Linked DNA regions of Homo sapiens: all the other regions are linked to region 3. Evidence: promoter capture Hi-C in 16 types of primary human blood cells and fetal thymus (Javierre and others, 2016). All regions are on one chromosome and are shown on one strand. Each heading gives the region's core, a stretch centred on a gene start or on the middle of the fragment in contact. The rest is flanking DNA. Distances are from core to core; before and after follow the strand shown. Region 1 overlaps NTSR1 (neurotensin receptor 1). Region 2 overlaps LOC105372716 (a long non-coding RNA gene). Region 3 holds the start of MIR1-1HG (MIR1-1 host gene). Region 4 overlaps RBBP8NL (RBBP8 N-terminal like). Region 5 overlaps NTSR1 (neurotensin receptor 1). Region 6 overlaps NTSR1 (neurotensin receptor 1).

Region 1 (4,333 bases), core at 664-3,163, 210 kb after region 3:
GGCCCTGCGTGCCATGAGTGCGTCGGTCATGGAGTCCGGAGCCCCTGAGCCGGCCCCTGGTGACGGCACAGCCCTCACAGCTCAAACGCCCACCCCCACTCCCACCATCTGCAGGTGGTGAAAACAAACCCCGTGTATCTCTCAATAAAGGTGGCCGAAGGGCCTCGATGTGGACTTGAGTGTTGAGGGCCTGCATGTGCCCACCCACCCACTCATTCATTCACTCCTTCATTCAGACACGCACCGACGCAGCAGCCAGCCTGCACTGGGCCTCTTACCAAAGTCTACAGGGCTCTGGTCCCAGAAGCTGGCGGGTGGGGGGCGCCGGGATCCCTCTGCTCACAGCCCACCCACCCTCCCTAGTGCTTCAAGGAGCAGTGGGCCCCCTGCAGGGCCTAGTGACCACCGAGGGGCCTGTGTGGGCAAAAGTCCTCACCGTCTCCTGAGCTTCAGTCTCCTGATCTGTGAGCTGAACACAGAGGACGCTCAGTGAAGCGGGGAGCCCGGGGTCCCATGACCGCTCAGCTCAGATCTCCATGGCCCCCTCTAGCCAGCCCAGGGGTCCTGTGGTTGTGGGGGAGGGGGCCATGGCCCCATCGAGGCCTTAGCAGTGGACAGATAGGCCCGGGTGCAGTACTGAGCCTCTGGCCTGGGCCCAGCCCCGTGCAGGCTACTGAGGAGACAGAAGATGCAGCTGAACCCTCACCCCCAGGGCTTCTGCTCTGAAAATGAGGGTTCCCAGGCACCTCCCAGACCCACCGTTTCCAATTCTCCCCCGCCAAGGCCCGGGTCATTCTCCATCCCTGGTTGGGCGGCTCTGGCTCTCTGCTGTGCTCCTTTTTAGGGCACCAAAAGCTTTTCTCCGGCTTGCCTGAGCCTGAGCCACAAGAGGCCGGTGACAGCAGAGTCTGCAGGGTGGTGCCCTGGGGTCTTTCTCATAAGCCTCCTGGGCCTCAGGATTAGGAGTGCTGGGCTCACCCTGTGGAGCTCAGCAAAAGAAGCATTTGCTTGGGCTTGAACAGTCCAGGAAGGCTGCCTGGAGGAGGAGGCAGGTGGGCCAGTGGGAGGCAGAGCCTGAGCAAGGGAGAGTGCAGGAGTGAGGGGTCTCCCCAGGGACATGAGGGGCTCAGAGTGGCTGGAGAGGAGAAGGGCAGGTGCTAGGGGAGCAATAGGGGAGGGAGAAGGCGGGTTGAGAGCTTGAGGGATTTGAGCGCCCATGGAGGGGCTGAGTAGGGGCCTAGGGGGAGAGGGGAGGAGCCTTGGGGCCCTCGTGGTCAGGAGCCTGCCATGGTTCCTGGGTCCTGATGGCAGGGAGCACCCCTTCCTGAGGGGGTCCTCTTGGCCGTCCTCAGCAGCTCTGGCCCTGCCTCCACCTCCCTGCAGCACTTAGAGATTCTCTAAGTGTTGTTTTCCTGTGCCTGGGGGCTCAGGACTCCTTCCTTTGGGGGCAGCCAGGTGGCAGCAGGGCTGGGAGGGGTCTGGGTGAGGGTGGGGAGATAAACTATAACCCTGATCATCTAAAGGGATCTTGGCACACGCTGCCAGGCCCCTCCCTCCCAGCACCCAGCACTCACCTTCGCCTGCCCTCCCAAGCGGCGCTGCCCCAGATCCCCACCAGGCTCAGCCTGTCCTTATCTGTGCTAAAGCGTTAGTGGCCACAGCATCTCCTGGTAACAAAGATCCCCACACCTTAACCCAAAGGACAGCAGAAACACAGGACAACCCCACCCACCCTAAGGGCATGGTCCCCCACCTTCCCCTCCGAGCCGCACCTGCCCAGCTCAGAGGTGGGGATGGCTTGAGTGAGGACTCCTGGGCCCCTGATTCAGAAGAGGCTGCAGGGTCTCCGGGAAGACCCTCTCACCCAACAGCTGCTCTCTCTAGGAAGCCTTAAACCCCCGACAGAGGGAAGCCAGAGCCAGGAGGAGGCCGGATGGGGACGAGGAGAGCCTGCTGCCTCGGGGTCCCGCTTCCCCTCGGCTGTGCGTGGCCACAAGGTGGGCACAGGGAGAGGGCACCCACCATGTGGAGCCCTTGGGGGGCCTGTGTTGTGCACCCAGAGGCTGCGTGGCGAGCACTGGGTGAAGAGGGGATGCCAGCTCTTCCCCCGGCAGCACAGCACAGCCATGAGCGCACAGGTGGTGACGCACAGGGTCCTGGGCTGGACTCCAGCTCTGCCACTGTGAGCTGGGACGTGGGATAAGGTGGAAGTTAGCACTCAGGGCCCGGCCCGCAGGACCAAGGTTGGCCGCGTCAGGGGAGCTGGGAGGGAGGCGGAGGCTGCCTTCCTTGGCATCTGGCCTTGGCGGCCAGGCCAGTGTCCCTCCTGGCCCAGAGCGGTACCCGGGCCCTCGACTGCTGCCCTCCACGGGCTCCCTGCCTGAACCTGTCCACACCCCGATTCGTCCCCAGAGTTGGACACTCCGTGATGTTTAAGGTTAAGGAATTGGTGTCAATCATGAGCTTCATGCCTGGCTGCCCGGCTCCTTCTCTGCCCCGGCCTAGTCTGAGCCCCCTCCACCAACAGTGGAGCCTGGTGCCACCCGCTCCTGTCACTCTGGAGGTGGCCCAGGGTATAGCACTGCCTGCAACCAGGTCCCTGCTCTCCTCTCCACTCTAGAGCCTCTCTCCCCTTCAAGCCTCTCCCTGGTCTGAGGCTCCCTCCCCTCTGAGCCTCCCTCCGAGCCTCTCTTCCCTCTCCTCTCTTCTCCCTGCTCCTCCCTCTCCCTGCTTCCTCCCTGGAGCTGGGGGCTGTCTCTCTGACTGCATCTCTGGAGGAGGAGGAAGAGGATTGGGAGACAGGACTTTAAGCGCAGATTCTGCCAGGCATCACCTAGGAGCCCTGGCTGAACCCAGCTGTGTGTAGGGAGCCTCCGGCCGCCCTGGGGCTCAGCATCCTTAGGTCATTGTTCCCATTTGACTGGCCAAGGAAGCCAAGGCTCTGGTAATCTGCCAAGGACCCACAGCCTCCCTAAGCTTGAAGACCATGGTCCTATCAGCCCTCATGTGCTCCCGGTGACCCACCCTGCAGGCCCACAGGCCGAAGGCGAGCTCCACCTGTTTCACAGCTGGGGACGCCAGGGAGGGGGAGAGCTGCACGGAGCTGGTGTTGGTTCTGCCCTCGCCATTGTGGGACCTTCAGAAGACCCCACCTCCCAAGGACCGTGACCCCCTCCTGGGGAGGGCACGCCTCCCCAGGAGCTGCCAGGTGAGAAAAGCACCCAGCCTCCAGCACACCAAGACCCAGGAGCAGTGAGAGGGCAGAGCCAAGCTGCTGCCCCAGGGACTGGTAGGGACCACTGATGGCAGTGGCAGGAGGAAGCTCCAGGCTGCGGGGCTCAGAGAGGGATGAAGGACAGGGTACGGGTTGCTTTGCCCCCAAATCAGAGATGCTCACCCGGCAGGAGACCCTGCATGCCCAGGCTCTCCCACCTCAGCCTCAGACGCCGAGCTGTGTAGACACTGTCCAGGCTACACCCAGAGCCTCCTGGGGTCTGCTTCAGCCTCTGGGAACCATTTGGCTCCTCTCTTCCCCCTGGGGGGCATGGGGAAAGCATGCCAGGGAGGAACGCTGGTTGGGCAGCCAGGCAGAGGTGGATGTGGCGGGCTCTCACCCCAGGCAAGTTGACCAAAAGGGTGACCGCAGCAAGGTGGGCTCTGCAGGGGACCCCAGGACGCTGGTCAGGCTCAGGGGCAGGGCTGGGGCGCAGGTTGGGAGGGCAGAGGTGAAGGAGCAAACACAAGGCATGGGTGGTCTCGGATGACGGGCACCCTCCCCCACCCACCCATTCAGGTCCTCGCCCTCATTCCCCACGGCAAATTTTCACACGGGCTGTTAGCCAATAGCTATTTTTTAACTCTGGCTACATTTTTAAAGTAAAATTATTGGATTCAGACAACATAGTTCTCCTTAAAGTAAGAAAGTCTGTGCCTAAAGCCGGGAGGAATAAGTACCATTTGGTGGTGAGTTTCAGTATCACCCCAATAAATCATGGGGTGCCACATGGCATGGAGGCAAACCCAGATCAACAACCGAGAGAACAGTCACTGCCCCTCCTCCTGCCCGCCCTCCTCCTTCCACTCCGTGCTTCCCTCTGAGCCCCCCACTCTCCCTCCCAGAAGACCGCCTAGCCCCACAGCCCTTTCCTTTCTCTGGGGTCTTTGTTACATTGACCACCATCCCGACTGGCTTCCACTTGGTTTCTCCCGGCTTTTCGCACACCCACGGCTCTTCATGACTGAGACCCAGCAAGCGGGAGCAGCCTGAGGTCCCTGTGGTCTTTCCAGTTCTGCCTCTCTCTAGGGATCCCTGGGCTCTGTGCCAAGGAGGAAG
Region 2 (4,417 bases), core at 1,128-3,627, 230 kb after region 3:
AGCCAATCAGACTGGTTGCAGTCACCACTTCATTTACATAAGGTGAGCACCAAGTGCCAATGGGAAACCTCTAGGGGGTATTTGGACCCGAGAAGATTCTGTATCCAGGGCCCTTGCACACTCCCGCTCCCACACTGTGGGGCGTACTTTATTTTCAATAAATCCCTGCTTTCGTTGCTTCATTCTTTCCTTGCTTTGCTGTGCATTTTGTCCAATTCTTTGTTTAAATGCCAAGAACCTGGACAACTTGCAGTCCAGACCCTCCACCGGTAACACCTTCTCCCTGCCCAGCACCGGCGCCGAGGTCTCTTCATCTCACTGCAGCACAGAGCTCTTTCCCCATGAGACTCAGCACCGCCTCCTGCCGAGAGAGGCAGCTTAGTGTCTGTGGGAAGCAGAATGCCAGCATCCCAATCCCTTCATGTGCTACCATGACGTGTGGCGGGGGAAGGAGACTTGGCAGCTGTGGTTAAGGTGAAGGTGGGGGACAATCCTGGATTCCCCAGTGAGCCCAGCGTATGAACCCTTAAAAGAGAGCGCATTGGCCAGCTTCTCCCTGGAGGCCGAGCCATAAGGCAGGAGGCGGAGGCAGAGAGAGTCGAGGTAAGGACATGACCTGGTTTTGCTCTGAAGATGGAGGATGGAGCCGTGAGCCAGAGAACGGAGCAGCCTCCAGAAGCTGGGAGCAGCCTTTGGCCAACAGCCAGCAAGGATGTGGGACCCAGGTCCTGCAACTGTAGGGCCTGGATTCTGACAACAGCTTGTCAGAGCAGGAAGCCAGTTCTTCCTGGAGCCTCCCAGCAAGAACCCTGCTGGCTGAAACCTCAATTTCAGCCTCATGAGACCTTGAACAGAAAAACCAGAAGAACCCGCGAGAACCTCTGACCTCCAGAGCATGAGATGAAAAATGGACGTTGGTTTACGCTGCTACATTTGTTATAATTTGTCCCAGCAGCAGTGGGAAACACACAGTATCCCCCTTGCCTGCTCTGCTGATAGAAAGGTACATTGTTTTCAACCTTCTGCTATGAAGAAAGCTTTGCATTAACTCTCCTTGCTCATATGCACATGGAGTGGAGGACAAATCTGCTGTCAAGCCCTGAATTGGGTTTTTGAGACACTGTCCGTCCAAACACCCACAGTGTGCCCCTGTGCAGAGGCTATGCGTACACAAGGCCCCACCATCCACAGGACGACAGAGGCTGGCTTGGCCAGCCCAAGACCATCCGGCCCCTCAGGAGCTGCCTGACTCCAGGAGCTCGTAGGCCATGCCCCGGCTCCCCCTGGGCAGGCTGCCTCCTGGGTCTGAGTGGGGAACAGGAAGGCCTCAGCCTCTCAGGTCAACAGAAAGTTTGTGCTCAGATGGGCTGAATGTTCCGGGTCCATTTCCTCCTCAAGCCCAGAAGGGTTTGCTTTGCAGGAACCTGTTCCAAGTGATTTCGAAGTACTCAAAGGCTCTTTGGTGGATGTGTCAGGATCCCAATTCCTGAAATAAGAAAGTTGTGTCAAAAATCACAAAAGACGCTGGGCGCGGTGGCTCACATTTGTAATCCCAGCACTTTGGGAGACCGAGGTGGGCAGATCACTTGAGTTTAGGAGTTCAAGACCAGCCTGGCCAGTATGGTGAAACCCTGTCTCTATTAAAAATACAACAATTAGCTCGGTGTGGTGGCAGGTGTCTGTAATCCCAGCTACTTGGGAGGCTGAGGCAGGAGAATCACTTGAACCCAGGAGGTGGAGGTTGCAGTGAGCCGAGATCATCGCGCCCCTGCACTCCAGCCTGGGCGACAGAGTGAGACTGCATCTCAAAAATAAATAAAATCAAAAGGAACTGGCCTGGCCCAACATCCTGGCCGCTGCGTCCTCCTCGCTGCAAAGTCAGATTCCTCGCTCCCGCTGTGGGGTTTCCTGGACCCCTGCCCACAGTCTGCTAAGTGCCTAACCTGGCCACTATTGGAGCCCCCGATCCCACAGAGGTGGCTGTTCAGAGAGAAGCGGTGGGCCCAGTGTTCCCCAGGCCACACTCCACAAGTAGGTGCAGGAAGAAGAGAGGTGACACTTGGGGCTGCTGGGGCTCAGCCCCTCCAGGGCCCTCAAGAGGGGTGTATAAGCCTCCCACCCAGGGGTGACGAGCTGGGTGCTCCCCACCAACACCCGCTGGCATCAGCAGCAGCTGATCCTAGGGCATCACCTGCCCGAAAGCCAAGGAAGCCCCTTGCAGAGGGCAGCGTATCTGGCAGTGGCCACTCGGGTGGGGCCGCCTTCCTCAAGCTCCCAACCCAGCAAGGACTCCCTTGCCTCAGGCTCTCCCCTGCCTCTCTCTCAGCCGCGTGAGCACGGCTCTGGGCACCGCACCTGCACCCAGCAGAACTGTGCTAACCGGGCCAGATCTCCAGGGGCCAACACAGCCTGGCCTCTAGGACGGGCCACGCTGCGAGGGAGGGAGGCAAGTGTGGGGAGGCCGGATTCCACCTGTTTGGTTTTTGATTAGGGAATGGCAGAAACCCAGGCCTCCCGGGGCAGGGATTCAGCTCTCCTAACGGAGGCAGCCTTGGTGGGGGATACTTTTCAGCAGGGACTCTTTTATCCCAGAGTGTTTTTGCTGTGTGCGCGATGACTGGCTCAGTTTTTGTAATAATCGTTTCCATCAGCATAGAGACAGCTGTTTATATTCTTCAACTTTGTATTATGAAAAACGTCAGACAGAAAAGTCGAGAGACTAGTATCGCATGCACCTGTGTGCACAGCATCCAGATTCAACAGTTACGAAGGGAAAATTCCACATTTTATTTTAAATTTACTAAAGACTGAAACACACCAAGTACCGCAGGAAGGATAACCTGGGTGGAGGAGGGATGGGGCTGGAGAGTCGGGGCACAAGGGTGAGGGGAATGGGGTGGGTGGGACAGAGGTGGGGGATGGAGGGTGGGGTAGCATGGGGTGGAGTGGGGGATGGAAGGTGGGATGGGGCTGGGTGGGACCGGGTGGGGAGATGGAGGGTGGGGTGAGGCAGAGGTGGGGGAATTGATGGGCGGGTGGAGGTGGGTGAGGGTAGGGTGGGATGGGTGAGACATGGGAGGGATGGAGCATGGGGTGAGGCAGAGGTGAGGGGATGAAGGGCGGGGTGGGCCAGGGGCAGCCCCCAGTGCCCACAGCTGGAGCAGGCGAGGGGCAGGAGGGAGCGGCTGCCTGCCCCTGCGCTGGGTGGGCCCTGGGGCGCCCCCTGGCCTGCTGCCAGGTCTCCTGAAGGAGGGGTTTGTTCCCGCCTCCCGAGCCCACAGTCTGGTCTGTGTGTGCCTGTGTCTGTTGACAACTCCATGAGTGAACTGTGATACGTCAAGGCTTGGGGGAAGTGTGGGAAATGCTTGTGATTTTCTTTCTCTGTAGAAGTGGAGCAGAGAGAAAGCAGCTCCCACAGCGTGAGCGCCTGATACAGAGGAGACCCGGGGCTTGGAGGCCTTAGGCATTCACTCCAAAGACCTGAGAATTAAGGGAACGCGGCGGGGCCTCTTGCCCAGACCTGGAAGAACAGCAAGTGCTGCGAGGGCCTCTGCACCCCCTGAGGACCCCTACGCCCCCCGAGGACCCCTGTGCCCTGTGAGGGCCCCTGCACCCCTGGGCCTGGGTGGAGACCCACACACAACCCCACTATTCCAGGGGAAGAGAAAGGGGCCCTGTGGGGCTTGTCAACCATCACAGACCCAGAGACTCTGGGCAGAAGCTTCTGCCTGTCACGCTCAGCCTGCGACGGCCCCACCAGGAGAGCGCAGCCGTGAGTCCCAGAGGAAGCGGCTTAAAAGGCCCCTTTCCACCAGCCGCCAAGCCCCTCCAGGCTTTGCTGAGGCCCTGAGGTAGCCAAGCAAAAACCAGCCTCACTTCCCAGGAGCTCAATCACCAGAAACTTCAGGGAAACAAAAACCCACCGGAAGACGTTTTCCCTAATTACCCAGACAAGTCAGACAAAGGCCATGTAGAGCCTTTCCCGGAGTTTCCCAGCAAGCACCGCAGCATCTGGGTTCTCACGTGGCCGTCAAGCCTGTGCACCTCCACACGGAGCTCGGGACCCACCCCCAGGGCTCCTGGAGTCAGCTCAGCCTCCGCCAGCAGGCAGGCCCCAGTGCCCACAGGCATTTCTGGGCTTGCAGGGCACAGAGCCTGATGCTTTGCTCCAGCTCCCAGCGAATAGGAGAGGAGCCCACGTGGCTGCAGCGTGGGCAGAGGCACAAGCCCCCCACCCTGCTGGGAGCCCAGGTGGCCCAGGAGTGCTCCTAGCCTGGTCAGCTGCCCACGCCTCTGGCTTGCACTGTCTGAGGCCCTGAGAGGGAAGCCTAGCCTCCAGCTGCTTAGCCCCAAGAGGAAGGTAGGGCTCACAGGCTGGATGGGGGGTCAGACGCAGCAAGGACAAGAGGCCACTTGA
Region 3 (4,396 bases), core at 1,142-3,641:
GCCCCCTCTACCCCGTCTCCCCCTTCTCTCCCCTCTCCCCTCCCTCCCGTCTCTCCTACCCACTGCGGTCTCCCTTTCAAATCATGGTGGAGTGGGCCACGGGCAGCACGGCCCTGGGCCGTCAGGGGCGAGGGCTATGGGCTCTGACTTTACTGCCCTGGCGAGGACAGCCGTGGACATGGTGGGGGCCAGAACACACCCAGCTCCGATCAGTGCTTGGTATGGGACCTTGGGAGAGTGAGGCACCCACCCTGAGCCCACGTTCCTTCTCCGTAAAGTGGGGACAGCAAAATGCTCTCCTCTTAGGGATGCCTTGAGTGCAGCATAGAGCCCCTGCAGAAGCTTCTGGAACACCAGGCAGCCTAAGTGCTGTGTGCCGGCTGTTACTGTGAGGCTGGTGCTATGGGTAAACGGGGGAACTGCTCTGTCTTCTGGCTCTGTCCTACGGCCTGGGGGCTGTCAGATCTGGCCACCCACACCAGCCCTTCTCCTGGAAGGAGATGGCCCTGTGCCCGTGCCCTGGTCCGTGGGTGTGGGGCTGCCGTGAGGAGGGTGATTTATGGCCACGTCTGCTGCATACCCTCTCTCTCACCACCACAAAGCACCCGCATCCTTTACAGAGCCGCCTGCCCAGGCCTGCAGACTGCTCCCCACCTCCCCCATTGTGGCTGTCTATGCCCCTGACCCCAGCTGCAGGCCTGGCCTGCCCCCCTCAACCCTGCCTGGAGACGGCAGGCAGGAGGAAGTGGGCTGCAGGGGAGGGGCCTTGCAGGGGGAGTTTGGACACCACACCTCACACCACGCTCTCCCGCTGCCAGTGGGAAGCCGAGTGGCTATTTAGTTTCCAGAAAAGTGCTCAGACCAGGTAGAAGCTTAAAACCTCCTGGCCTCCTTTATGGTGAGACATGGGGTCTTTAGCGGGGCGTACAGGGCTGGGAGAAGGGCCTGGCATCACTCAAGAAGCCTCTGCACTGGGCAGGTGCAGGGGGCGTCCCTCTGTCCCTCGCTGTCGCTGGCCGGAGGACACCAGAGTGGGTGTCGGCGTGTGTGGCGAGTGTGGCTGGGGCTCCGGCTTCTCCCCATGACTCTGCAGAGCCGGCCTTGGGATGTGGGGAAGGGGCCGTGAGCCCAGGAGGTGAACCTGGAGGAGAGCCCTGCCTCAGCTCCTGTGGGCCAGCCTGGGGGGTGTGCAGGCTCCTCAGGGGCTCCCCTGGGATTAGATGCAGCTGAGCCTGTTCTGAGCGGCATAGACTCCCCGGCCCTGTGTCCCTAACTGGCCAGAACCACAAGGGGATGCCTTCCTAAGTCCGGGAGGCACTGGGGACATTTATGAGGTGGCTTCTGAACAGGAGGACCTATGCTCTGGACAGGACTCACAAATACCAAAGCTCATTGTCCCCATCACACGGGCCTGTGCCTGCCACCAACGAGCGGGGTCCCCGGACCACTGTGGTCCACTGTCATTCCACGACCTGGTCCCCAGTCCTGTGGGGCCCCAGAGAGATGGGACGACCAGCCAGCGTCACACAGCCTGTGAGGACAGTCTGCCAGTTCAGGCCTCTGGTCTCTGCGTCCAGGCCCTGCAAGGACAGATCCCCGTCAGGCCCCGTCCCAGGCCCTCGTCTGTTACATAATTCGGGCGTGAAATCCCGGAAGGGGGAGCTCCTGAGCCCGTCCAGCACCCGGGATTGGGGTCTCCCCATCACACACCCTTGGTGGCAGGGCCTGGCTGGGGGCGGCAAGCAGGTTGACCTTGCCTCTGTCCAAGGCGACTGGCATTTGTCATGACTTGGGGTTGGCTTGAGAGTCTCCGGAAACCCAGGTGGCTCTGTCACCACCTGATCCTGGCCCCAATTCTAGGCAAAAGGGCAGAGCCGATGGGACTGTGGAGGGGGCCACCCACTCCTGGTGGCCTGGGTGGGCTCAGCCCACTGGAGGCTCAGAGCAGCGAAGGAGGCCGTACCATTCTGCCCGCCCCCCCCACCCCCGGCCCTGCAGCCTGGGAGATGCCCGGGTCTCCCCAGGGCACCCTAGGAGCCGGCTGGCATGGCATGGAGGCTGCTGCCCGGCTACTGAGGAGGCGCCTCTGTACTGGCTGGGCTAAAAATAGCGGGGGGATCTCGGGCAGGGACAGCCGGTGGGAGGCCTGTCAGGGAGGGGCCGGGAGGGGCAGGACAGCAGCCTGAGCCCGGGACCCGCCGTCAATGGCGTGGGTGCTCCCACCCTGTTCCCGGTGGCCGGGCCAGCCGCGGCCCAGCTGACAGGCTATTTTTTCCCCTGCTTGACTAAATATGGTCAGGGAGCGCAGCCCGAGGGGGCCACTTGGCCAGGGCCGCGTGTTTGGGATGCTTGGCCGGGTATATAAGAACTGCAAAGGTGAGGCCGGCTCCTGACCCGAGGGGGGCCCCCACGCCCGCTCTGGCCTCTCAGGTCAGGCCCTCCCCTCCCCTCCCCTCCCCTCCCCCGCCCCTGTGTCTCCGCGAGCCGGCTGTGTGCCTGCGAGAGCGTGCACACCCGCGGGACCTTCCCTTTTGTTCCACCCTGACCTCTACCTTCTCTACCTTGTGCTGACCCCGCTGGGGTGCAGGGGTTCCCTTCGGAGGAGGCCGGGGCTCAAGGTGTGCAGCTCGGCCGCCTCTCCCTAACTCTGCACCAGCGCCTTCTCTCTCTCTCTCTCTCTCTCTCTCTCTCTCTCTCTCTCTCAAGATCTCCCTCCTGCTAAGTCTGCGCTGCTGCAGGAGGGCTGGGGGAAGGGCAGGGGTGTGGAGAGGGGGTGCCTGGTGTCTTCTTTCTCTCTCTGCCCCCACCAAGTGCGGACGCATCGAGCTTCGGCCCCCACCCCTGCATTCGCGATTGGCTCCCGGAGGAGGTGGCTGGTGCTGCCGCCGCTGCAGCATCTCCTAGGGAGCCGCGACCCTGCGCCCGCCGCCGCTGCCGCTGTCACCAGCCCGGCCCCAGGGGTGCCCTGGGCTCCGCGGTGAGTCCTGCTCAGCCCATCACCACCGCTGGGCCGCCGGGACGGCCCCTGCAAACTTGCCGGGCACCGCGGTGGGGGGTGTGCCTGCCAGCGAGGTGGGTGCTGCGGGTGCCGGCGCCGTGCGGCTCCGGCGGGGGTGCCGTGGAGTTTTCTCTTGGCTCGCGGCATCATCCACATTTGGAAAACTGCAGAGCCAGCAGCCGGCAGGGCCTGGAGGGCGCGTCCAGCTGGGAGGCAGGAACTTTGACTTGCGGGCATTTTGCAAGAAAGCAGCGGCCCCCCACGCGGGCAGTGGATGGCATGGGGGCTTCGGGGCTGGGCTGGGGGCGCGATTCACCTGCCGCTCCGCAACAAAGCCCCGGCAGCCGGGCGTGGGGCTAAACTTACCTTGAACTTGCAGTATCCCCCACTGAGGTGCTGGTGGGGGGCAGGGATTCCCGAGCTGAGCGGCGGCGAGGCTGCCCCCGGCCGGGACTCGGCACTTCTGCAGCTCTCCCAGCCACGTCAGGGTCAGGAGGCGTTTACAGGGGCAGGGCGGCGAGGTGGGGGGCGGGGGGCACATGTGGGCGGAGACTAGGGGGGCTTCGGGGAGAGCAGCCCTGGTGGTCGGCGTCTGTGCAGGTCCCTGCTGGGGAGCTTGACTTCCCGCGTGGCCTCCCGCGGCGCTGATGCCGGGGGCCGGGCGGTATTCACCGCTGAAGAGCCCCGGAGGAGGCCCCGGGCACAGGAGCCAGCTCGGCTCACGGTGGGGTCTGCTTGGAGGCGGCTGGGTGCTCTTTTTCTATGCAGACGGGAAACTTTTTGAAAAGTGACTACAATTCATTTGTGAGTGGGCAGAAGTCCTGTGGACTCTGGCTGGGTCTGGGGTGACTCTCCTGCCCTTTGGGACTCCCAGCTTTCCCCTTGACCCCCAGACCCCGTCCAGATGAATGCCTCACAGGTCGTGGGGGCTTGAGCCAGGCTGCGGGAGTGTCCCAGGCTCTGAGAGCTCATGTGCCAGGGAGCTGGGGACGTTGAGGAGGCCTTTTCCCTGGACTCCGGGGACGGTTATTGCGGAGGTCTTGGGAGGGCACAGATGAGCGGCGGAACCCAGGTGCCCCCGAAGTTGAAGCTCAGGCTGCGGTGTCGGGTGCCCTTTTTGTATCCTTGGCTACGTGAAAATGATAAATCACAGCAGCTACGTGGAAATGGGACATCAGCTTCTGCTTCTGTCTGCCATTTGCTCCTTCCTTTGTAGAGGGGATGCCTCCAGAGCCTTAAGCACAACCCCCACCCCCCGCCCCCACCCACCCCCACGTGAAACTCCAACCCAGCCATGCCCAGCTGCAGACCCACTGCCACACAGCCACAGCATGCTCAGTGGCCTCTGCACACTGCAGGCTCTGCGGAGACATTGCCCTGCCCTGGGTGGTAAGAGAG
Region 4 (4,351 bases), core at 1,019-3,518, 130 kb before region 3:
GGCGCCGTGGATGCTGGCTGCGTGCATGGCTGATTGGATGCTGTTGAATGAGCAGTGCCGGCCTCGAGGGAAGGGGGCTTGCCCTTGGTCATCAGGAGGGCCACTGGGGCCTCAGCACTGCAGGACCTTCCGCATCTCAGGAAGGAGGCCGCGCCCAGTGGGGGCCGGGATGCCCCCAGCCCAGGGGAGGGAGGCTGTGTTGAGGGAGGGCCACACCAGCGCCGGCTGGGGGCTTTGTGTGTTTGTCTGTAGATTGGGTTGTGAGGTTCCCCCAGTGGTGTGGGGCCGATCGTCCTGCCTCCTTTCCCCATGCCCCTACATGGGCTGAACAGGCCTGGGGTCGCCTGGCCCCGTGGGAGAGGACCCCGGTTGTCTGGTGGGTGGGGCTCACTGAGGATGAAGATGCGCTGCAGGTTCTGCAGGTGGGAGCTCTCGAACTCCTGCTGCCGCTTCCTGGCCAGCTCCTGGGTGACCATGCAGCGGTCGCACAGGCCGGCCCGCAGCCTGCAGGGATGGGGACGCAGGGGGTGTGAGGGATGGCACGGAAGCCACAGAGGGCCTGGGACACTCACTGCCCCACTGCTGGGAAGTGCCCCTGCCCTTTGCAAACTATTCCGTAGAGCCCCAGGCCTCTTCCCACCCCGTGGGCTAGGTGTCCCATGTTCCACTGAGTTTGGGGAGAAATCTTGAAAATGCAATTTCCTTAAGGCTCTGAGATGTCCTGCAGTGGGGAAACCTTCCTGGTTCAGTTTATCCTGGAGTTTCCCAAACTCATTCTCCGAGGAGCCCTGTCACCTCCTCCTCTCCTGAGCCCACCGGTCCTGGCCATGCTGCGAGGTGTCCTCCCAGGCCCACCTGTTCTCCAGCACCCGCAGGTTCTCCTTCAGTGTCTTCTGCTGTTCCCGGAGCTGGTGGTTCTTGGAGAAGAGCTCCTCGATCCTCTGGGCGTCCCTGTGGTGGGAAACAGCTAAAGTGGGGTCCTGTTCCATCCAGGAAGCCACACGCTGTCCCCACCATCCAGCCTGGGGGGGCAGCGCGATTCGGCACCTGCAGCCTTGGTCTGGGGGCAACGCCTAACCCGGTGCCCCCCTCCCAGTCATCTGCACGCTCCTCTGTGACGTCTGTCCCGTCCACGCAGCCCCCCCAGTCATCTGCACGCTCCTCTGTGACGTCTGTCCCGTCCACGCAACGCCCCCCCAGTCATCTGCACGCTCCTCTGTGACGTCTGTTCCGTCCACGCACCACCCCCCCCAGTCATCTGCACGCTCCTCTGTGACGTCTGTCCCGTCCACGCACCCCCCCCAGTCATCTGCACGCTCCTCTGTGATGTCTGTCCTGTCCACGCAACGCCCCCCCAGTCATCTGCACGCTCCTCTGTGACGTCTGTCCTGTCCACACACCACCCCCCCGGTCATCTGCACGCTCCTCTGTGACGTCTGTCCTGTCCACGCAACGCCCCCCCAGTCATCTGCACGCTCCTCTGTCACGTCTGTCCTGTCCACGCAACGCCCCCCCAGTCATCTGCACGCTCCTCTGTGACGTCTGTCCTGTCCACGCAACGCCCCCCCAGTCATCTGCACGCTCCTCTGTGACGTCTGTCCTGTCCACACACCGCCCCCCCTGTCATCTGCACGCTCCTCTGTGACGTCTGTCCTGTCCACGCACCACTTTAGTGCCACAGCACAGGCAGGACCATAGCCGGGTCTATAAGCCAGAACGCAGGGAGCCTGCCCGCCCGCCAGTGTCTGACCAGACATGACCCCAGCTCACCGTGAACGTATTGTTGATATTCTGATCATGATCCTGGGGTGGGAGAAGCCCCGAGTAGGGGGCTTGCCCCGCCCCTGGGAGGCCGACGCAACTGGGTTCAAGTGCTGGCTTCGCTGCCTGCTCACCGTGTGACCTTGGACAAGTGACTCCCCCCGCCCCCACACTGAGCCTCAGTTTCCCTTCTGCACCATAGGACGGTGGTAGTGCTGGCACACTGGGGCTTCAGGGGGATGAAGTGGCCAGTGTGGTCCCTGTGAGGAGGGGCCCTGCTTGGCCTGACTCACCGGCACCTCTCTGAGTTCAGTTCCAGAAGCTTGTTCTGCAGGCCTGGGGGAGCAAGCAGAGGGGCGGGGGGTCAGGCCCAGCTGCTGCTTCACCTTCAGTGTCCCCACCACGGGGTCTGGGCAGAGCTGCAATGTGGCACTCCTGTCCCCTGCACCCCCTGGGGGAGCCCTGCCAGGTGAGCCCCTGTCTGTGCCCAGGCACGGGGCTGCCTGAGGCTCGGTGGTCTCGGCCTAGCATCTGTTGCTTCCCCTGGGGTCTCTGCCTCCGGCATCTGTCTGGGGGTGTCTGGGGGTGAGCAGGGACCCTGGTGCCACAAGTGACCAGCCACCTGTGAAAGGTAGAGGGACCGAGGGGCCATTTTGTGTGTGTGTGTGTGTCATAGCTAGTGTTGAAATAAGATAAGCTTCTGGGGCGGACCCCACCAGACCCTCTCCTTGCCGTATCTTGGGGATCCAACCTGGGCCTGGCTAGCCCCAGCAGCCCCACCTCTCTGGGTTGCCTAGGAGGCAGCCGGGTCCTTGGACCTCCAGGTGGGTGTGGGTGCTCAGTGGAAAGACCACGGGGAGGTGCTGGCCCTGGGACTGGACTGGGGGTGGTGTGGGGGCTGCGGCCCTGTCCCTCGTGGGGGAAGTGGACAGGGGTGGGGCCTGGGGCGTGTCCTAGAAGGAAGAGAAGAGTTGCAGCTCAGTGCCTTGACATGTTCTGGATGGGTCCAGAGAGCCATAAGCTCCTGTTTCTGGAAGTGGCTGTCTCTGCCCTGGTGAGCTCAGCAGGCCGGCCAGGGTGGGTACTTCTTTCTGCCACGCTGGAGGCCGGCCCACGGGAGAACAAAGCATGGGCAGCATGGGGCCTGCGGGTGGCAGGTGGCCATGAGGTGTTGGTGGCAACCCTTGAAAGTGCCCCTCCCCCTCGGGGTCACACTCTGGGAGTGGCTCGAGGACATCCCCGCTTGAGGTCAGCACTCGGGCCCAGGCAGGGTGTCTGCCACGTTGTAGCTCTGGGCCTTGGGTCAGGACTCCCCTGCCTGGGCCAAAAAGACGGGGTCCATTCCCTGACTTGGTGGGAATTGGAGGTGATCATGGGTGCACAGTGGCCTGCTCCGACCCTTAGGTGAGGGCTGTGGAGACCCCTCCCTAGCCTGGCATCTGTCCCTGGCCCCTCACCCAGGACTTCCTTCTCGTGGATCTCCTTCAGCCTGTTCAGCGACTCCATGAAGCTCTCCATGGCTCCCTGTGGCCCTGGCCCGGGCCCCTCTGCGCTGGGGTTGTGGAGACGCCTGCAGCCTCTACTGCCCCTCTGTGTCCATCCTGAAGAGGAGGAAGAGGGGACAGGGATCCGCTCAGGAAGGGCTTGTGGGCTGTGGAGTCCAGGAGAGGATTGGGGCTCCTTGTGTCTGTATGGAGCAGACCCCATGCCATGCTGTAGGGGCTACTCATGGGAGGTGGCCTGGAGGCTCCCGAACCCCACGGGCAGGCACAGAGATAGTACATTGTGTGGCTTCCTCCCACACGTATGTGGCCGGGGGCCAGAGGGCAGGGTGCTGGCTGCCGTGCGGGAGGGGCTGGAGGGGCCAGGGAGCATCTGGGGTGAGTGCCGGCACCTCTGAGCCACCCCGTTCTCCCCAGGTATCCAGCCCATCAGTGCCTGGCCTGTCCCCACATAAGCCCTTCCCCTGGCACCTCAATGGAGGGACAGGGAAGCCTGGCAAGAGCTGGATGGTGCTGGTGGCACCTGCCCAGCTGTGAAGCTGGGAGTCAGACCTCACCAGTAAGAGCCCCACAGACCCTACCATGCCACTGTCCACACCCCGGCCCCAACACCACTGTCACAGCACCTCCTTCCCTCTCACCAGAGCCCTGTACTCAGTTCCCTCCTGGGATCTCTGTCCCCCTCCAATGCCGTGGCAGCTTCAATCCTGTCCCACAGGCACACACACACACACACACACACACACACACACACACACACACAGATAGCATGTGCACACAACACACATGCACATATATGCAAAAGACACACACAGAGCATGTACACACATAACACACATGCACAAAGACAGACACACCACACAGCATGTATACACACAACACACAGGCACACACCCAGAGTTACACACATACAACACATATGTACACAGACAGGGATGCCCACACACAACACACAGAGACACATAGACATGGGTATACGCAGACACATGCTGACAACAAAGCTGTGCAGACATAGAGACACAGCTACACATGCAGTTGCAGGTACACGGAAACACACACAGCCACAGCAGCCCCCTCTGCCCGGAAGC
Region 5 (3,981 bases), core at 575-3,074, 170 kb after region 3:
GGGCCAAATATAAGTGGAAAACCTTGGTTAATTCTTGAATGATGAACCAGCCTCACATTCCTGGGATAGACCTCATTTCGTCGTGTATTAGCTGGTTTTGACTTGCTAGTGTTTTGCTGAGAATTTTTGTGTCTATGCTCATGAGAAATATTGGTCTGTAAGTTTATTTTCCTGGGTTATCTTCATCTGGTTTTCTGGCCTCATAACATGAGCTGGGAGGTTCTTGTTCCTTTTGTGTTTTCTGTCAGAGGTTGTGTAGAATTGGCATGATTTCCTCTTTAAAGCTTTGGTAGATTGTCCAGCAAAACCATCCGGGCCTGGAGTTTTGTAGGAAGGTTTTTATAAATTCAATTCTTTTCAAAGAAACCAGGTGTAGTGGTTCAGGCCTGTAATCCCAGCACCGTGGGAGGCCAAGGAGGGTGGATCACCTGAGGTCAGGAGTTTGAGACCAGCCTGGCCAACAGGATGAAACCCTGTCTCTACTAAAAATACAAAACTTAGCCAGGTGTGGTGGTGGGCACCTGTAGTCCTGGCAACTCGGGAGGCTAAGGCAGGAGAATCGCTTTAACTCGGGAGGTGGAGGTTGCAATGAACCGAGATCACGCCACTGCACACCAGCCTAGGTGACAGAGCGAGACTCCATCTCACAAGACAAATTATTTTAAAAGATAAAGGAATATTCAGGTTATATATTTCTCCTTGAGTAAGTGTTAGTAATTTGTATCTTTTGAGGAATTGGTCCATATAATCTATTTTGTCAAATTTTAGAGCATAGATTTATTTGTGGTATTCTGTCATCATCCTTTTAATGTCTGTGGGGTCAGTAATAGTGTCTCCTTGTTCATTTCTAATATTGGTAATCTGTGACTTCTCTCTTTTCTCCTTGGGCAATATGGCTAGGATTTTATTAACATTATTGTTCTTTTTCAAGAATGAGCTTTTGATTTCATTGATTTTTTTTCTATTGTCTTTTAGCTTTCAATTTTATTTATTTATATTTCTTTCTTCATTTCCTTTTTCTGCTTGCTTTGGGTTTAATTTGCTCTTCTTTTCCTAGATTTCCTAAGGTGGGAGCTTGGATTATTGATTTAAGATCTTTATTCTTTTCTAACATAAACATGAAATGCTATAAACATCCTCCTAATTAATGCTTTAGTGGCATCTCAAAATTTTTGAACATTGTATTCTAATTTAGATCAAAATTTTTTTATATCTTGAGATTCCCTCTTTAACCTTTGTGTTATTTACAAATGTGTTGTTTAGTTTCCAAATGTTTGGGATTTTCCAGATATTACTTTTTTATCCATTTCTAATTTAACCCTATTATGTTTAGAGAACAAATGTGCATGATTTAAATTCCTAATTTTGTGAATGCTTGTTTCATGGTTTAGGATAATGGTCTATTCTGGTGAATGTCACATGCACACTTGAGCAGAATGTGCTGTGCTATCATTGCTGGGTATATTATTCTATGAAGGTCAATTTGTTGGATAGTGTTATAGTATTTAATTCTAGAATTTTTATTGGTTCTTTTAATATAGTTTCTTTTTGTCTTTTAAGAACTTTCATTTTTCCATTTATTTCAAGAGAGTTACCTTTACCTCAAGGAGCATGGTTGTAATGCCTGCTTTAAAGTCTTTGTCTGGTAAATCCATCCTCTGGGTCATCTTGAGGGTGGCATATATTGATTCTCTTTTCCTTGAGAGTTAGTCCCATTTCCATGGTTCTTTTTCTGTTAAGTAATTTTGAATTAATTCCTGAACATTTTGAATTTTGTTGTGGTTCTTTGGGTTATGTTAGAATCCTCTGGAGAGGCAGCCCGCTTGGTCAGAGCTGCCGCTTTTGTCTCACTGTCTGTCCGTGGTGGTTCCAATGCAGGCCTGTTTTTGGGTCTTTTGCTGTTCAGCCATTCCACATGAAAGTGCCATTCAGGGGCAGGCTTAGATCTTGGAGATCGTTTATATCACAGCGGTTTTCAAGCCCTTAACTATAATTGTTTAGGTGTGTTCCTCATATGTGGTAACTCCAGGACTTGTGTTGACTCATACACAGAACTGGGGGATCCCCTTGTTCAGCTCTCACCTCTCTGAGATTTCCTGTCACACTCTCTAGTTTCCAGGGATCCTTTCCTTAGGCCTCCAGCCAGGAAGCCCGAGTATTCCATGTTATGTCCTCTGCTGACTTCTTTAGATCCACTTCTCTGTATTTGCTCTTGGAATGGTTGCCCTGGAATATCAGTATGCCTCTGAGTGGACTCTGAGTGCTCAGAGTCTGATCAGATTCATATCATGCTGATTTACACCTGACACCTCCTGCTTCTCACTTCCACCTTGATGTCTGTTTCAATGGACTCATTTTTTTCTTGTCAATGGGTCACATTTTACTTTCTTTGCATATCTAGTAATTTTTAACCTATACTAGACCTTGTAGATGACACATTAAAGAGACTGGATTGTGTTGTGTTCCTTTGGAGAGGGTTGATTCTTATTTTAGCAGGCAGTTCAGTGGCAGACTCGTCATCTTGAACTTGGGTCGGCTTGGTTTCATGCTTAGTTGAGTAAACAACTACGGAAAGCCCAAGGCATTTTCCAATATCCCTTCTCACTTGGAAGAACTCAGTGGGCACCTTCAGCCTCCTCTGTGGATTCTGTCTTAGCTGGGGTGGGTTTGGAGGCCTTGCTCTAGGGCTTCTCCATCCTCCTGTGTCATGGGCTTCCTGGCATCTCTGTTGGCTGCTTCATGTGTTAATGAGACTTCTTCCCCCTAGCTCTGCCAGGATGCCAGCCACCCTCTGATAAGCCTTTCGTGGCCTTGTTCTGTACACGCTGGGCCAGCACAGATCCCACAGGAAAGCCGGTGTAGGCTTCTGAGGACCGTCACCATGCAGTCCCCCTCTCTAGCACCTGGCTCTGCAGATGTAGCCACAGCCACAGCCCGCATCTCTGATCTCTGCCTCCTTGGCTCAGATAGTAACGTTCTGCCCGGACCTCAGCTCTTACGTCTCCATCAGGAAACTGTCCCCAAACAGAGGCATGGTGATGATGGGCTCACCTTGTGAGTATCCATGCCCTTAGGGACCACAGTCCTGAGGTTTGTCCAGGGTCTGAAAACAACTGCCTGATACATCGTGTACAATTTTATAGTTGTTTATGGCAGGAGAGCTAGTCCAGTACCCCTGGCGAAAGTCATCCGTAGATTTTAAACACTGCCTACTTTCAAAAAGATCTGAGGCAGCTTATGATAAAAGGCTTGGGCTCAAAGGAATTATTAAAACAATGTTACAAAAGAACACAGAACAAAGAAATAGAGTTATCCAAGAAACATGAGTCTGAGGACAGCCACTGTGTTTGAGTAAATCTTACACTGAAGCTTATGAAAAAGAGCAACATTATTTGGACTTAAACATTTTTAGCCTGTTGTCTGTGAAAAGGTGAACTTACTGTAAATTTCAGTAACTCTCCTTTGACATATTTAAAGGTTAAGAGAATTATTTCAAGAGCCTTGTTTTCTTATAATTCAAACACGGTTCCTCTCCTTAAAAACTCACACTTCCAGGCTCTCAGCATTCAGAGAGTACGGGAGCTGTTTGGGAATCATTCCTGCTTGGGCATCACTCAATTGTAACTGCTCACAACAGCCGTGGGATGCTGCTGTCTGGGGTGTCACTTCCCAGTTGATTGGCAGAATCACGAAGCCCCCGGCTCCTGCGAGTCAGGGAGGGACCGCAAGTGTGTCTGGGCCGTGTCACTCCGGAGCTGCGAATAGAGCCGTCCGGAATGTGCTGGTCAGGAGCCAGGGCAAGGAACGCTCATTTGTCCACCTGTCGACTTCAGGCTGCGTGCCCAGCAGGATGTGCACAGTAGGAAGCGGCTGTCGGGGGTCACTATTTATTGCCTGGAGCTGAGGGATAAGCCATTCCATCTGGGCTGACCCCATGGTGGAGGACCAGATCCAGGATCCCTGGTCCAGGGCTCACCAGCA
Region 6 (4,071 bases), core at 1,150-3,649, 190 kb after region 3:
CCTGATGGAGGAAGTGGGAGCTCAGGCTGTGGGATCAGGCCCCTGGGTTCACAACTGTGCCTGGGTTTCTTTATCTACAAAAGGAGCCTGACAGGAGCCTCTGCCTCACAGATGAGACCTGTGTGCCTGAGGTGGTGCACACAGAGTATGTGTAGACCCCAGGACAGTCGATGTCAGCTAGAAAGTGAAGGTTAGAGGAATTCAAACCGTTATTTTTAATACTGAGCCAAAACCTGCACATCAGAGCTCTCTGATGGAGGCGTGGACGGGGTCGTGAGGGGCCAAGTACTAGCCAGAAGCTGCGCCGTCCATTTCATCCCCTCCCCACAGTGGTCCCACAGACACCGAGGTGGCTGACATGGCCCCTCCAGGTCACACGCCTGTTCTCTCTCCAGTCCTGCCCTCAGGGACTCAGAAATGCTGGCGTTCCAGGAGGTGGTGTGTGGGCTCCTCCTCAGGCCAGGTCTGTGGTCACTGCTGACCACGCGGCAATGTACGGCTTTCCAGGCCCCCATCCACCATGAGTCAGGCGTGTCCCCACTGGGCAGCAAGTCCCACAGCTTTGCATTCCAGATCCCAGCAGCATCTCGAGCCGGGCCTGGTACTGCTTAGATGCCTGGGAGGGAGGACCGAGGAAAGAGACTGGGGACTGAGGGACAGCACAGTATCCCAAGCTGGCCACTACCAGAACCTTCTAGAACAAGGTCACACTGGCAGTTCTTTATGCCTTCCGTCCTCTGCTCCCCAGACACCTGTTTACACAGGGCCCTAGGTCTCAGGTGTCCTGTGGGTGGCCGCTGCTTTTCCCTGGGTCCCTCCATGGTGTCTCCTCTGAGGACAGCCACTGGTCAGAGCCTCCTGGATGACCTCACTCCTGGAAAGCGCTGGGCTGTGTCACCTTAAAGACCCCTTTGCTCTCTTGGCCCTGGCACCCCACCTCTGGCATGGGGAGCAGAGACCCACCAGGGTTCCCATCCCTCTCCCCGCAGTGTTTCCCCAGTTCCAGGGCTGTGAGGTGGTCACAGTGGCTCTGGTGTGGCCGTGGGGTTCCTGTTCATCCCAGGGCACCTGTCACGGGACATACCCACAGCACAGGCAAGTGGAACGTTCTCTGAGTTTAGCTTTGTTTGTGTAGGTAGTTCACTGTGGGAGTCTAGCTTTTGGGGGACACACCTGAGACCCTCCCAGCTACCCTGCCCTCTCCCCAGATCAGCTCGGTAGGCTCCAATCCAGAGAGTCAGGCTGGGAGGGGAGCACGGAGCCGCCCCTGCTGGACACGTATCCCGGCCATCTCAGGCCCACCCATTGCCTCATTGCTCCCTGCCCCCGGTCCAGTCAGCTGAGTGCCCCGTGGTGTGGGTGCGTCATGCCATGGCGACCAGCCCCAAAGGGTGAGCCTTTGAGTTGTTCACCAATCATTGGGGTTTCGAACAAGCCTGTGCTGACGGCCCTGGCACACAGGGTTTCTGAATTAACTCTGCCATCGTTCCTGGCCTCAGCTGTGGTGGGGAAGGCAGTTCGGGGTCATGAGAACCCTGAGGGTTGCTCCCAAGTCAGTGTTTGCTGGGTCTAGTGGGGGCCTCTCCACCTGGAGTCTGTCTGGGAGGTTAGAAAAGACCGTCCGTGAGCCTGGGCCCTGCTGGGGCTGGTCATCTGCTCAGGGAGAGGGCGATCCCCTGCCAGCCCAGCAAGGCCACCCCAGCGGTCACCCCCTTGGGAGGGTGTGGACAGGAGCCTCCCCTCCCACCCGCCCCGCAGCCTCTGCAGCCATCTTACAAAGCCTCTGGGTTCTGCAAAGCAAAAGGGTTTTGCACCTTCCCACTCAGCACAGGCTGGCTGCGGAGCCGGGAAGCAGTGTGCCAGTCTGGGGCTGTCTCTTGATCTAAACACAATGGGATGAATTAGAGAGAAAGGCAGAATACAAAACAAGCAATTGCTCTCGAAGAGCGAGGTGAGAACGCCCTGCCTGAGGTCGAGGGGCTGAGGCCGGCTGTCTGGAGCCTGTGTCGGGGGCACCCTCCTGCTGTCTGGCTGTGCCCTCACCTGTGGGCAGGCATACCGTGTGCACCCCTCCCGCTCCCCACCTGGTCTCCACGGCCAAGCTCAGACCAACCACCCAGAGGCTGCGCCCCGGTCCAGATCCCCCTAACACACCTGCTGTTTCATTATCTAACCTTTCACTCCACCTCCGTCCTCCCCATCAAAATTACACATGCGAGGGGGCAGAGGCCAGGCTGTCCCTCCCATAGGTCCAGCCCCACCAGCCGTCGCCCCAGCGTGTCCCATCCCAGCCTCCCAAGCCGCAGTCCTGTGCCCCCCAATTTGCTTCCTTTCCCACACCCAAGGGAGCACAGTCAGTGCTCCAGGAACTGAGGCAGCACCTCTAGGCTCGCTCTTTTAGAAATGAGGCTGAGGGGCTGGACGCAGTGGCTCGTGTTTGTAATCCCAGCACTTTGGGAGGCCGAGGTGGGCGGGTCATGAGGTCAGGAGATCGAGACCATCCTGGCTAACATGGTGAAACCCTGTCTCTACTAAAAATACAAAAAAATTAGCCAGGCATGGCGGCGTGCACCTGTAGTCCCAGCTACTGGGGAGACTGAGGCAGGAGAATGGCGTGAACCCGGGAGGTGGAGCTTGCAATGAGCTGAGATCACACCACTGCACTCCAGCCTGGGTGACAGAACAAGACTCCGTCTCAAAAAAAAAAAAAAATACAAAATTAGCCAGGCATGGTGGCACATGCCTGTAATCCCAGCTACTCAGGAAGGCTGAGGCAGGAGAATCACTTGAACCTGGGAGACGGAGGTTGTGATAAGCAGAAATCGCGCCACTGCACTCCAGCCTGGGCAACAAGAGCAAAGCTCAGTCTCACAAAAAAAAAAGAGAGAAATGAGCCTGAGGCCCAGGAGGACCTGCCGAGCTCACAGCTGGCCAGGGAACAAGCCAGGCCCCCACTTCTGGCACCAAACCCCAGGCATTCGGCTGCTTCTGAGAGGCTTGAGGCCCTACCAACCACTCAAACGCCATTCCCAGACCCAGACAGGGCTAGGAGGCAAGGGGTAGCAGCTGAGGGGTGCACACAGCAGAGGATACTGCCAGAAGCACGAATGAGATTCCCATGGAGGCAGCCCCACCTCCAGACCACCACGGCTGTCACAGCAGACACCCCTGTCTCCCACCATGACCTTCTGCTCTGGAACATCCACCCCTAAAACCTCAGACCCAGCCACTGAGGCCCATGGCCCAGAGCCCAGCTACCCAGCCGGCTCCAGGGAGGGTGGCCCAGCCAGTTCCTGCCACCTGAGGATGTTGGTACACACACCAGACTCAGAGGGAGACCCAGACAGACAGCAACACAAAGACAGAGAGAGAGACACAGAGAGGAAAGCAGAGACACAGAGAGACATGGAGAGAGACACAGAGACAGAGAAACAGACACATAGAGGAAAACAGACACAGGGAGACACAGAGACAGAGATACAGAGACACAAGAAAACAGAGACAGAGATAGAGACAGAGACACAGAGATATAGAGATAGAGACACAGACTCAGGAAAACAGACAGAGAGAGACACAGGAGAACAGAGACACAGAGATACAGAGATAGAGACACAGGAACAACAGAGACACACAGACAGAGACAGACACAGGAAAACAGTGAAAGACAGAGACACAGAGGAAAACACACAGATATACAGAGAGAGACACAACAGAGACAGACACAGGAAGGAAAACATACAAGGAGACAGAGACACAGAAAAACACAGAGAAAAACACAGAGACATCACAGGAGAAAGATACAAAGACAGACAGAGACACATATTCTGCCTCGCCTCCAAATCCAGCTTGGCGTGGACCTCGCTGGGACTGGATGGCCTTCTCTACAGCTGCTGAACAGCCTCGCCGTCCCCAGGGCTTCCCTGCTGTTGGCCATGACCCTCCCCTGCTGCTTGGAATTGCAAAGCCAGGCGGTCTGGGAGTCCCAGCCACCACGCGTCCCCCAGAATATTCATGGGGCTGGGCCAGGTGACTCCCTGCTCTCTTTAGAGACAAATCGAAAGGCGCCAGGGT

Evidence for each region. The method cuts DNA at HindIII sites, captures the fragments that hold promoters and counts their contacts. A CHiCAGO score of 5 or more calls a contact.
Region 1: a contact is called between a fragment that was not itself captured here and the fragment with the promoter of MIR1-1HG in region 3, in 4 of 17 cell types (M0 macrophages, M1 macrophages, total B cells and 1 more). The highest score is 8.5, in M0 macrophages.
Region 2: a fragment that was not itself captured here is called in contact with the fragment with the promoter of MIR1-1HG in region 3 in 3 of 17 cell types (M0 macrophages, M1 macrophages and monocytes); the score reaches 8.7 in M0 macrophages.
Region 4: a contact is called between a fragment that was not itself captured here and the fragment with the promoter of MIR1-1HG in region 3, in 1 of 17 cell types (M1 macrophages). The highest score is 7.0, in M1 macrophages.
Region 5: a contact is called between a fragment that was not itself captured here and the fragment with the promoter of MIR1-1HG in region 3, in 4 of 17 cell types (M1 macrophages, neutrophils, total B cells and 1 more). The highest score is 5.7, in M1 macrophages.
Region 6: a contact is called between a fragment that was not itself captured here and the fragment with the promoter of MIR1-1HG in region 3, in 1 of 17 cell types (naive B cells). The highest score is 5.5, in naive B cells.

What each region holds. Positions count from the first base shown.
Region 1 is chr20:62,762,598-62,766,930 of GRCh38, forward strand. It overlaps NTSR1 (neurotensin receptor 1), which reads left to right. Exons shown (of 4, transcript NM_002531.3): 4 at 1-174. Among named protein-coding and RNA genes, the nearest start is that of LINC00659, 12 kb to the right of the region's middle. The HindIII fragment of the contact is 2,121 bases long and covers 854-2,974 here.
Region 2 is chr20:62,782,344-62,786,760 of GRCh38, forward strand. LOC105372716 (a long non-coding RNA gene) reads right to left here. Exons shown (of 4, transcript XR_936986.3): 4 at 875-1,486. Among named protein-coding and RNA genes, the nearest start is that of LINC00659, 7.7 kb to the left of the region's middle. The HindIII fragment of the contact is 2,684 bases long and covers 1,036-3,719 here.
Region 3 is chr20:62,548,062-62,552,457 of GRCh38, forward strand. It overlaps MIR1-1HG (MIR1-1 host gene), which reads left to right and starts at 2,392. Exons shown (of 4, transcript NR_171007.1): 1 at 2,392-2,977. It overlaps CRMA (cardiomyocyte maturation associated lncRNA), which reads right to left and starts at 3,500. Exons shown (of 7, transcript NR_033263.1): 1 at 3,365-3,500; 2 at 251-400. RefSeq lists an enhancer at 2,479-3,354. The HindIII fragment of the contact is 7,236 bases long and covers 871-4,396 here.
Region 4 is chr20:62,416,369-62,420,719 of GRCh38, forward strand. It overlaps RBBP8NL (RBBP8 N-terminal like), which reads right to left. Exons shown (of 14, transcript NM_080833.3): 2 at 3,219-3,362; 3 at 2,055-2,097; 4 at 856-951; 5 at 392-504. The coding sequence starts at 3,279. Among named protein-coding and RNA genes, the nearest start is that of RBBP8NL, 9.0 kb to the right of the region's middle. The HindIII fragment of the contact is 375 bases long and covers 2,082-2,456 here.
Region 5 is chr20:62,719,654-62,723,634 of GRCh38, forward strand. All of the region lies in intron 1 of NTSR1 (neurotensin receptor 1), which reads left to right. Among named protein-coding and RNA genes, the nearest start is that of NTSR1, 13 kb to the left of the region's middle. RefSeq lists a silencer at 1,721-1,913 and an enhancer at 3,741-3,981. The HindIII fragment of the contact is 3,085 bases long and covers 283-3,367 here.
Region 6 is chr20:62,741,858-62,745,928 of GRCh38, forward strand. The region is part of intron 1 of NTSR1 (neurotensin receptor 1); the gene reads left to right. Among named protein-coding and RNA genes, the nearest start is that of NTSR1-AS1, 8.5 kb to the left of the region's middle. The HindIII fragment of the contact is 4,880 bases long and covers 1-4,071 here.